Regions from separate parts of the Homo sapiens genome. Here region 1 is linked to region 2. The links are contacts of gene promoters, found by promoter capture Hi-C in blood cells and fetal thymus (Javierre and others, 2016). All regions are on one chromosome and are shown on one strand. Each heading gives the region's core, a stretch centred on a gene start or on the middle of the fragment in contact. The rest is flanking DNA. Distances are from core to core; before and after follow the strand shown. Region 1 has its middle 26 kb from the start of MIR1246. Region 2 holds the start of HOXD12 (homeobox D12).

Region 1 (6,563 bases), core at 3,717-6,216, 470 kb before region 2:
ACAGGAAGGGGAACATCACACACCGGGGCCTGTTGTGGGTGGGCGGAGAGGGGAGGGATAGCATTAGGAGATATAACTAATATAAATGATGAGTTAATAGGTGCAGCACACCAACATGGCACATGGATACATATGTAACAAACCTGCACCTTGTGCACATGTACCCTAGAACTTAAAGTATAATAAAAATAAAAATAAAAATAAAGCAGTGTGCACAAAAGGTGAAGGTCCCGTCTGAAACGGGAGTGGGGAGGCTGCTGAGACTCACACGCAGCCTCCACCCATCATTCTCCCCAACTCTAGCCTAGCTCCTAACATAACCTCCTGATGTTTTTTACTTTCTTATTTCTCAGTTCTCTCTGGGTATTGACATATCCCCCCATGGACTATAAGCTCCTTTGAAGTCAGGGACAGTATTCCAGGAATCACTGTCATCTTCCTGTAGTATCAGGGGGAGGAGGGGGTCAATAAATGTGTGTTCAAAAATACTTTTTAAAAGGCTTAGGACTATTTGTAAGACAGAGTTGAGAGTATATAACAAAGCCCCTGAAGAGAAAGCACATACATGAAAAGATCATTATAATTTCAAGTAGCACTGCAACAGCTGCATGAAGGAGAAAGTCAAAGTCACGCAGGCCCGAGTTGGAAAAGGAAGGATTTATAGAAGGTCTATACTTCTAACTAGTCCTGGAAGTGAGTAAGACTAAGACAAGAGGAGGAATAGAAGGGCATATGAGGCAGGACACATGGTGTGACAAGACAAGGGACCATTTCAGGAAAGCAAAGGATCGGTGTAGGGAAATTAGGAGATTAAATGGGAGAGGATATTTCATGTCAGATGGTAGACATTGGTCCTTGTTGCCAAGCTGAGGAGTTTGAACTTTATCTTATAGGAAATGGGGAATCCATTGAAAGTTGTAGGAGACAGTTACAAACATATACCTTGCAAATACTATTTGCTACACTCTTTGCTGTGAAATCTGTGTCACTCATTGATAATGCCAGAGGCTGTTATCAGTCAGGAGATTACTAGACAGTAGAATTATCTGGACAATAGTTTCCATCTTCCTGGCAAATAGGTTATACAGGACAGACTCAAAAGCCTTCTTATCTATGAATTATTGTTTCCTGCTAACAATCGTATTTGATTTGAAGGAAAATTTTTCCATTACTTTTCCAGAGACAGAAATTAAGATTACAGTCACTCTTTTATCCTTCATTTTTGACCTCAAGGGCAGAGGTCTATAATAATCCTACACCTCTTTGTATAGCATATCATCACATAACTCCACAAAAAATCCTTCTCATATTTCATTATTTTTTTCCTCCTCACTCAGATCCTCATCCCCATTCTTCTCACCCTCATAACAGTCAATTTAATATTTTGATGTGTGCATATATTTTCATATATCTACTGTTTTTGTACTCAACAAATTTTTATATTTGTTTTTAAAATTTAGACAAATGGAATTTTAAATATCATTCTCTCTTTATCACTCATAATTTTGCTTTAAAAATTTACCCATATTGCCATATTTACATAAAAAATATTGCCTCCACCAGCTGCACGGTATTCCAGACTGCGACAACCCAGTGTACTGATCCATTCCCCTGGTAGAAGGCATCAAGTTTGATTCCCCATTATCACAAATAATGCTAAAAAGACATTGGCATATATGATCCCTTTGTGAAAATTTCTCTGGGATATGTGTTCAGAAGTGGGATTGCAGTAGTAGGGTGACTATATAATTTATTTTCCCAAGAACATCCTGGAAAATGAAAACGGCACTATTAATAATTATGTCAGAACCTCAGACTTTCCCTGCTACCCTGAGTAAGAAAGGGCCTCTTGTCACCTTAGTCTTATGACATACTCATACTTAATTTCATCAAGATTGTCAGGTTGCTTTCTGAAATAATCATACTCATTTCCTCTTCCCTCAATAACGAAAGAGTTTTCACAACCCCTCATCCTTGCAAACACTTGGCATTATTCAGTTTTCTAAACTCTGATGTTCTCATGTGTCTAGAGTAGCCAATTGTTCTGCTTATCAATGAATTTGAACACCCCATCCAACACCAGTTCATCATTTGAGCTTCATACTGTTTGCATATATTTCTATGGTGTTTCCTGTTTATTTCTGGTCAATTTGCAGGAGCTTTTTATAGATTCTAGATATTAATTGTGTCAGGTTTTTTTTTTTTGTCAAAGTCGGTTTTAAGCATTGCAAACATCTTCTCCTAGTCTATCATCTGTCCACTAATGTGATGAAGCTTATGGTTTACTGTTGCCAGGGTCATCATTTTCTCTTCAAATAAATAAATAATATAAATTTAAATAATAGATTAACAATTCTCTTTAAATCTATAGGAAGATATTATTATCTTCTTCCCCAGTCTCTGGCTGACTGTCTAGCTCTTTGCACATTCTTTTTTAAACAATGATAAAGTCTATAATGACTTTAGGCAAGTCACTGCCATCCCTCATGACAGTGGTTCTTAAACTGAACGTCACCTGAACCACATGGGGTGGGGCCAGACTCCGCATCTTTAACCAGCTACCCAGGGAATGCTGATGCTGAAATCCAACAGCCCCATGTAAAGACACATGGCCTAGCATACAAAACACTGGGGCCAGCAACATGGGATAATAGTGCTGAAAGAGAGCTTGGAGATTCCCTAGTTCAACCCCCGCACACACATTCCAAGTCTTGAGAGGACAAGCACCTTGACCAAGAGGCCAAAGCTTCAGGCCTCCTGCCTGATGCCAGGCCGGGGCTCTTGTCATCACAACAGGCAGGACGTGAAATACCTCTCTTACTCCAGTGCTTCCTTATTGACATATCCTAATCAGGAAGAATCATTCCATTTCATATACTGTATAGTGAGCCCTGTTTTCGTTTTACTGTTGAATTTTTATCCAAGGCTTCGGGTGGCAAAAAGATAAAATGCTTTCATCTTAGGATGTCATTATTATCAGCACGATCTAATTTAGGAGAGCAACATGCTTACTTCTTGCATTTTCAACATTTTTAAAGTAAAGCAAAAGATCCTCCTCCCTTGTCATGAATAGCATCTCTGAAAATAGTCCACCAAACCTCCAGAGTCCAGTGCAAACAAAACTCGGCTCCATGGCATCCCCCTGTTTCGTATTCACATGATGCAAAACACATGGGCCAAATTTATGTCACCGCAATTTGCCTGGCAGCGAGCATTTAAATCACCAAGGTTTGCAGCTCCACGTTTTAGGATGTTGTTTGCAATCCTGTAGCCAAGAGCTCTGAAGGAACAAGCTCACATGAAGGGTCGTTAGCCAGCCGGATGTGATGGGGCTGTTTTAGCAGAGAACTAATTAGTATGCTGCAAGGTATCTGCATATCTCTCAAATAGACATTGTTTGTGTCTTTCCTCAGTGACAGGGGGAGATTGTTCAGTAGAACACCTTACCTTTTAATATGCGGGGTTTGTTAGAAGAACAGCTCAATTCATATTTCCCCTGGTTTGATGGTAAGTGAACAGCAGTGGCAATATTAATCTGTAGTAACCTGTCAGTGAACTCTACAGCTAATATGATGTAGTTATGATTTTACCATCAATCAGGACTGAACAGGCTCTGGGCAATCCTTACAGCACAGCCTCAAAAAATCTAATTGTGCAAAAGCTTCATTGGTTTCCAACATTTCTTTTTATCTGTCACAGGCTTTAGGCCTAATACACAACCTTTTATTATTGGCCTTATTGCATTAGCTTGTCGGACAAAGAAGAAAAGGCTAAAGCAGAGAGTTCCCCTGCATTCCATCATTTGTTTGCATGCAGGATTTTATTTGACAGTCCTGTATTGTTTTAGATGTAGATAAAAATTATTCAGACATATGGCATCATATGAACTTTTGAACTGCCAATTGCCAATGTGTCCTAAAGGACTGGAGGCATTTACAAATTCTGCTCTACCTACAAAGACAGAAATGCTATATGGACGAGCCAATAAGGTCTCCTGGGGGAACTGTATTTTAGAATCAACATAATCTTGCATGTTCTCCTTGACCAGTTTTTATGCAGGGGAGGAGTAAAATTGAGAGATGGAACATTAGCAACTGAGATGATTTTTAGCCAAAATGAAGGTTGAATATTTGAGAAATTAAAATGGAAAAACAGTTCACTTTCTCTGAGAACCCGCATGCACAGCATGAAGTAGTATGGAGCCACATGGTGTCCCTTCGTCCCTTCATGTGCAGAATATTTTTCTGGGTGTCTGAGATGCAGTGAGATTCAGTTCCAATGAGAACATGTGCATAAAACACAAATCCACATCAAAGTAGCTCCAGCCTTGAGACTACTGGGTTGGAAGGAACTGTAAGACTTAAAACATATAAAAGCATTTAGGAAGATGAACTATTAACTTTATCTATTTAGGCATTTTAATCTTTTGCATCTTAAATGCAATTGGGCTTTTGGAACTGGGAAATTGCTAATCAGCATGTTGGGTAAATGTTTCTATTTTAAAATGTGCACATTTAGAAATAACAGCTGGCCATAAAGTACATATTTATGTTTGTGATTTAATGTATCACAAACTTTATACTTTATTTCATTCAGCTTCACAAAGAGACCACGCTATTTTTTTTGCAAGCATTATATAACTTTTGCAGCAGCTTTATGACTCAAGAAACACATACAGCAATAAATCAGATATGTATACAATGCCTAGTTTTTCAAATTTGAAATGTCTATTAATGAAAAAATGTAAGGATTATATCCATCTCTTACACTGTCCTAACTCATTTAAAGATTCGACTGAAAATTCCTGTCCATTAATCAGGAAAAATCTGCACAGAATTATACCGATTGTCATTTGAAACACTGCACCCTTGCTTCAAAGGAAACATATTGTGACTAAGGGCACAACAACAGCACAACTGAGTGTTAACCCTTCACAAACCAGCGTGCACATTGTCTACAACCTCATAAAAATAGCTACACAAAATAAGGAAATAGCTATGGCATCCTGCGGTAAGTGTGCAGGAACACGCCTTGGGACTACTGAGGTGGCTGCTGGAGGAGAAAGATGAAAACAGGATGTTAAATGGTTGCAGCAGTGGTGGCAGCTTTGAGAGTTCTCTGGCCCCATCTTCATCGTTAGATGAGCTTTTTCTTAAAAAGGTGGTCTCTAGAGGGTTCTTTTCAAATATTTAAATCTAAATGATCTTAAGGAAGACCACCTGAAAACATCCCAGCTTTGTCAGACCTCTTATAAATTTATAGCTTCTAAGGTAAGCCTTCCTGACAATGTGGCCAGCACGCCACTCACTAGTGAAGGCCTTTGTCAGTGCAGGAAAATGTTTGCATTTGTCAGAGTAAGTTTAGTTCCAAGGTATCATAGCTAAAAAGAGCATTGGATTCTCTTGTGCTGTCCTTGGCAAGAAAAACATGACAGAGAATGTCCATATGAGCAGTTTCAAAATTTAAAAACTAGAAAAGACTGTGAAACTAAATAACTATTGAAAAATGGGAAATTTAGGGTGGGGCATGGTGGCTGATGCCTGTAATCCCAGCACTTTGGGAAGCCAAGGCAGGCGTATAGCCTGAGGCCAGGAGATCGAGACCAGCCTGGGCAACATGGTGAAACACTGTCTATACTAAAATACAAAAAATTAGTCGGGTGTGGCGGCATGTGCCTGTAGTCCCAGCTACTCAGGAGGCTGAGGCAGGAGAATTGCTTGAACTCAGGAGGTGGAGGTTGCAGTGAGCCAAGATCGCACCAATGCACTCCAGCTTGGGCAACAGAGCAAGACTCTGTCTCAAAAAAAAAAAAACAAGGGGGGGCGGGAGGGATTTATACAGTCTAACGCAGCTATTGCTTAAAATACATATAAATATATCTACAAAATTATTAAAATTAAAAAATGCCTACAGACACATGGATAATATACATGTCATTTTCAAGTCAAATGATAACAACAGTGAAAGTTCTCTCCAGAAATAAAAAATGCTAAGCAACTGAAAAAATGTTATTTCTTCAACATTCTCCTTGGACAAAAGGAGAATGGGATAAAAGGTAACTGAATTCATCTTATGAATGTCTTTAAAACTGTAAGTTGAGAAAATATGTCTTTCAAAAGAGTTGACAGAAAACAAGGGCAAAAGGTTCATAGAAGAAAATGTAAAGTGAAGACATGGGGGCAGAATGGTGAAATGTTTTTATAAAGGACTACCTAATCATAGTGACAAAGGTAGATTCAGAATTATTGGGGAAGAAAGGAGAAAAGCTTAGAAAGCCAACACATTAATTAGTAAGTTTGAAACATAGATAATAAATATTATTAAATAAATTGTTTATATGTTCAAACATCTATCTATATATGTATATACTGTATGTAATATATTTTACCATTTTATGCTAACAAAGAATTTTTCTAGCAAAATATTACCAGCGTATCTTAGGTACATATAATTTTAGTGGATTTCATCCCCCTTGAGAATATGTTCTAGATCCCAGAGAATTTAATACAGTTTCATCTAATTTATGTTTTTAAAAATATACTCATGTTTGGAAGGTATAAAGA
Region 2 (5,805 bases), core at 1,461-3,960:
CAGCTCCTTGACAGCTTGGCTCAGACCTGGATATTTATTTTCACTCAAAACATTTGTATATATTGTGTCTGATATATACAAGCTACTGTTTTTGACAAAATCAAAACAAAACATGCATGATAACTATTAGATAGCCTAGAAAATGAAATTAGTTTAAATATCAACTGAAGTCAGTTGGGCTAAGGCTCAGGGCTCTCTGTGAGGGGCCCACTCCAGATTTAGGGCCAGGTCCTGCACTGAAAAGAAATCACTGGACTTTGGGAAGGAATCCTGAATCCTTGAGTTGTTGTGCATCATGCTAGGAATTGCGAAGGAGGAGTGCTACATGTCAGAAGGAGAGGGGAGAAGAGGCAGGGATAGTGGAATGAGCTCGCAGGGGGAGGCTTGGTTCACTGAGATTAAGGCGGGACACTCCAGTACACCCAGAACAACTCCACCTGGCATTTGGGAACCCCTGCCTCCATGAGGCAAGCCTGGCAGGGCCCAGGGCCTTAAAGTCTCCACTGGGACAGGCCAGACATGCCTCAGAAGGGGCACAGTAGCTGGGCCTCTGGTAGAGTTGGCAGATGGTAGAGACGGTGAGAGGAACTTCTGGTCCTCTTTGCTTTGTCAAGAGCAGCTAGCGGGGCAGAGAATCTAAGAGACTTCCTTCCCCTCCCCTTGACTCTTGAGAAGGATTTTTGCCTATCCTTATGGGGTTCCATTAAGGTAATTGAAGAAAGAAAGATGCACCAACACCTTTACTCACCTCAACTGGAAAGCCATATTTACAGTTGGAGTGCAGCACCCCTCCTCCTCTTATTCACTCCCTTCTCCTCCCCTGGATATTTTTCCCTCTCCCTGTGCAACAGAGCTTCAAAGCAGACCAACAGCTCCTTTCACCAGAGCTAGCCTCTGGGGATCCAGTTACAGGGTTCATAGGCCTGGCCTAGGCATGTTTGAGAAGGTGGGAGTAGGGCAATGTTTGCCAGTCTTGTCTGGAGATGGCACTTGTCTGGAGTCCCAGTCTCTCTCATCCCATCTCAGGAAATGAAGGTTCCACATATTCTACCCAGCTGGAAATAGGCCAGCCTATTTCGCATTTCTCATTTCGAGATATCTCCAAGTTTACCCCACTACCCAGCCCCTCCCCTTCCCTCCCTTTTCCTCCCAAAGTCTGAAGATCTAGTGTGGCTTTTGTTCTCTCAAATCAGCCAGGGCAGACAGGAGGGTGGAGGGTGGATGGTGCCCTTTCCTTTCTCCAGAGTGAAGATCCTGGCCTTGCCACAAAGGGCTTCTGCTGCAGAGACCTAATTGTACCCACAGTCCTTTCCATTCCCTCAGGAGGCCTTCCACTCTGAGCCCTAACTAGGCGACTGCTATACGCTGAAGGGGCTGGAGAGAGGGGGAAAGGGAGAACGAATTGGGTGGAAACAGAAAAATCCAGGTACCGGGGAGCAAGAATGAGCGGTGGGTGCAAATGCCCCAGCCAGGAGCAAGGAGAGTTGGCCTCAGTCCCCCAACGTGGAAGCCTTAAGGCCAGCCAGAGTTGCACTGGTACTTCCGCACGTTTCTCACGGGCTTCTCAGGGACTGAGGAAAGCAAGGAGGCCCAACTGGCCTGGTCTGTAAATCTCTTGGTGGCTTCTGGGGCCAGCAGAGAAGGAACCGAAGGAAAAGCCTTAGCCTTAGCCCCAGATCCCCCTCCCCAAACAAGGCCTCTGTCCAAAAGGGCAGATCCAACCCGGCCCTGGCCACGCGCGCGGCTAGTAGAGCGCCAGCGCCTGCTCCCGAAGCACCACGCGCTTCTTCTTCATACGCCTGTTCTGGAACCAGATTTTGACTTGCTGGTCGCTGAGGTTCAGCCTATTGGACAATTCCTTGCGTTTCTGCCTGTTGATGAATTCGTTGACGAGGAATTCGTTCTCCAACTCCGCAATCTGCTGCTTCGTGTAGGGTTTCCGCTTCTTGCGGGCCCTCCCCGGGGCCGCCCCCCACGGCAGGCCTGCAACACAGCCCCAACCCACGTCAACCCAGCCCGTACTCTGTCTATTGCCCGCCCCCAGGCGGTTCACCTCCCCTTACACTCTCCCTTGAACCCCACCTCCCATCCCGGCCCAAACCGGCCCGGGGAGCATGGGCACCGTTTACCGTCGGGCAGTGAAGGTCGCAGGCAAGAGGCAACGCCCGCCGCCTGCACTGTCATGTTCAAGTTGAGCGGGCCCTTGGTGTCGTCCTTGAAGCCAGGGGCGCAGGGAGCCCCCTGGAGCAGGGTCGTGGAGCCCGGCGTGGCACGACCCACACCAGCGTAGTCATACTTGGCCGCTTTGAGAGCAGCCACTGCAGGAGCCAGGCTAGACTCGGGGGCGAAGGACGGCCGGGTACGACCGCGCTCCTCTGGCCCAGCGGCCGCTTCGGGCGCATAGAACTTAGCCTGCTCTTCGGGTCCGTCTTTGGCTGTTGGGGGCTGCAGGCCGAGAGGCCCGGAGCCAGCCAGGTAGGGCTGCGAGAAGCCGCCGAAGGCAGTGGCGCCCGCAGGCTGCGCGGGGGCGCAGGAGGCGGGCGTGGCGGCCCAGGGCAGCGCGCCGCGCGGGTAGGAGATAGGGGGAAGCGCGGCCAACTGGCCGCCATTCGGCCTCAGGTTGGAGAAGTAGAAAGAGTCTGGCGACTGCAGATTCAGAAGCGAGCCCACATAGCCCGCTCTGTAGAGACTGCGCTCACACATCTCCAACAAAGGGCTTCGGCTGCGCTCGCAACAGTATTTAGTTACAACCGGGAATAAGAGGACAGGCTCAGACGATTGGACGAAACTTTGCCTGCAGGTTCTTCAAAGCCGGTCATTTCAGCACCGCCTACATCCCCCCGACCCGTTTTCCCCCCCTTCAGAGTATTATGATAACACCCGCAATGTTCGATGGCGAAGGACGAGGCTGCCAGCAGAGCCAAATCAGGTTGAGCGAAGACTAACTGTCTGCGGGTTTCCAGGCCCGGCTTCAGCAGCTGGGGACATCGGGCAAGAGGGTGACTCTGCCCAAGTGTCCCCTGGGACTCTTCTTGGTCGTGATTGGCTTTGCGATTCGTTTTCCGCAGGCTTTCTGGGCCCGGCTTGCTTCTACCGGCTTTAAGTTGCAGCGGAGGCATTTTCCATTAACCGGCGCCTCTCGACTTATCCGGAGAGGGCGCGGTCCGGCGGCACCAGGAGCTCTGTCCCTTGGCCTGAGCAATGTCACTTTTACCCCAATCACTCCCACAGAGAGGGTTTCTCCAGAGACCTCTGCCTGAGGATCTGGCAGCAAAGACCCATTCGCTACTTGAGCCCTCAGTCCCAGGCCGCAGACACAAAAAGGGCATCACAAACTACCCAATTTTGGGATCCAGGAAGGAGGCCACACTATTTCTGGTTTGTGTCCCCATGGCTAAGAACTCTGATCATAGGGAAATTGCCATACAGGTCCATGGAGAATGTCCGCCAGGGAACCCATCAGCTCGATCCACCAATCGTGGCCAAAGGCTACATTCCTTTTATCTTCAGGAGTCCTCTCCAGGACTACACACTGCAAACCAGAACTCCGAGGTGTCCCCATCCACCAAGTGGAGGGCAAAGCAGGACGAACTCCCCCGACTGGGTGTGGAAAGGCAGAAGAGCCAGAACCACCTGGCCGGGGAACAGCGGGCGTTCGGAGGCAGCTGGCTAGCAGAGTTCCTTGCCTCAGCGCCCCCAGGGGTGCCGGGGATAGGGAGTTCACGGGTCTGACAAACAGGGAAGTGGGAAAGGCAGCAGTTCTTAGCCGGGAGCGGTGTGCTCAGACCCCGTCGCTGGCCCTCTTGCCTAGTCCGGCCAGAGGACTAGGGGTCCTCCCCTCCTGCCTCTGATCCCAAGACCCTGGGAGACCCGGTGACCGGCGCCAGTCTCAGCCTGCAGCAGGACCCTCGGTCTCCGAGCCAAGCTGGAATTGGTTAGATCGCGGGCTCCTGCACTGAGACCACACAGGCGCCGCCGGAGGGCAAGACTGACCGCCGCGCTGCCACTTTATTGTGTGAGTTATGGCGACCAATTGGGTGGCTCTGGGGAACGCAATCGGCCTCTTCCTCCTGCTCTGGTGGGGGGGAGAGAGGGAGTGAGGACGGGGGGGTGGGGATGTCTGGGGCTCCTCTGGCTCTGCCAGAGAGTTTCCTTAGGAGCCCAGGCATAGAGACTCACTCGCTCTCGTCCTCTCTTGGGAGGTGGGGGCAAGCACAAACTGCAATCCCAGTTCCTAGATACTCAAGGGAATACAAGCCTCAGATCCCTAAGAGCTCTTATTTTGGGGAACCCATCCTATTTTCGAGGAGCTGCAGCTTCGTTACTCCCGAAAGCTCCAGCTCCAGGGGTCCCTGCAGTCTCTCCTCACGTTTCAGTGCACGACGATTCCTCGTTATTTCCAAGCCGAGGGGTGTCTCTTTCGGACCTTTAGGCAGCCCTACAACAGCTGTTTGCGCCTCAGGACTAAAGGCATAAAAGAACTCAGTGAAAAACAGGAAAAACAAGAACAACTAGGTTCCCTCCATTGCTCCTTGGACAGTCTTCCCACTTCATCCCCCGGGTTTATGACTTTCGAGGTCTGGCAGGCAAAGTCTTATGCGAGCTGGGGAACCTGATCGAGGGAGGATCGGGGTGGAAAGTAGTGGCGGGAGAGTGGCTTGGCTGGTGATTAAGAGAATGGAACAGGATTTGGCTGAGGAGCGAATAGAGAGCTCTGCCAATGCCGCCCAATGCCCAGGAGATGGCGAGCGCGCTCCATGCCTATCGGGGCGCAGCCGCACGGTCAAGATCAACAGTGAAGGGCGGTGCGGCCTCCCTGGGGTCGCCAGCCCGCTTTCAGACGCAGCCTAGCGCCTCCGAAAGCCGGAGATCTTGGCGGCAAGGCCGCCCCTGACAGCGGAGCCAGAGGGACCCAGGGGGCTGCCAGAGGCGGGGAAGCACTGCAGTCGCCCCTTTGTCTGACCGTGAGTCCCGGCTCCAATGCTTCCTTCGCCTCTTGAATCACGCGACACGGGGACCTCGTTCCCCCACCCGCGGCGCTAAAAACCTGCCGGGTTTCTGAGGAGCTCTCCTGCCGCCTGTCTCCAACCGAAGGAAAGGCCTCTCTCCAAGCCCCCTTAGCCTTCCGGGTTCCCCGAGGGCCTCCCTCCCAGTGCCTGGGCCACTTACCAGTTCCTCTCCTCCCTCTGCAATTTGGAATATAAAGGGAATGCATATGAATAACAAAGCCTTCTTCTGTTATTGATTTAGCCCTCAATCCAAATTCCTCCAGAGAGCGTTTGAGCACAGTTTTAATCTTCAGCAAACCTACCATTTCTCCAAGGCGGGGGGAGGGGGGGAAGTGACATGCAAACTAGAGATGAAAGGAAAGCCTCGAGGCAATCTCCCCTACCCACGATGGGAAACCCGAGAAATAGACAGGGGAAATGGAGTGAAGCTCCGGAGTGTGGGACTCACAAAAAATGGAGGGGAAGTTGGCGATTAGGAGAAAGGAAAAATGTGCCCGTTTCTGATGAAAACACATCTTTTGAGAAAAACCACAAAAACGGTAACGACCCTTCCCGAAGTGTAAGGTGGGGGATGGTGTGGCCCCTTGTGCACGGGTTATTTCTTCTGCAAAGATTGAATCGCGATCATATCTCTCTCTGTTTCTCTGTCTCTGTCCCTCCCCCTCAAAATCGAAGTTAGCTGTCCACGGTCGCCAGTAAGATATGAAAGAAATCAAGCTGGGACAGGGAAAACGAAAGTAGCTCCAAGTCTTAGGTCTCTGCGTTTTCTCTCTCAAAGTCATGAGGGAGCCCTCCC

What was found. The method cuts DNA at HindIII sites, captures the fragments that hold promoters and counts their contacts. A CHiCAGO score of 5 or more calls a contact.
Region 1: a contact is called between a fragment that was not itself captured here and the fragment with the promoter of HOXD12 in region 2, in 1 of 17 cell types (fetal thymus). The highest score is 5.4, in fetal thymus.

What each region holds. Positions count from the first base shown.
Region 1 is chr2:176,571,782-176,578,344 of GRCh38, reverse strand. No RefSeq gene overlaps it. Among named protein-coding and RNA genes, the nearest start is that of MIR1246, 26 kb to the left of the region's middle. The HindIII fragment of the contact is 2,605 bases long and covers 3,664-6,268 here.
Region 2 is chr2:176,096,700-176,102,504 of GRCh38, reverse strand. HOXD12 (homeobox D12) reads right to left here and starts at 2,710. Exons shown (of 2, transcript NM_021193.4): 1 at 2,130-2,710; 2 at 16-1,983. The coding sequence starts at 2,703. The coding sequence ends at 1,745. RefSeq lists enhancers at 2,123-2,855, 4,397-4,979, 4,980-5,563. The HindIII fragment of the contact is 6,365 bases long and covers 1-5,805 here.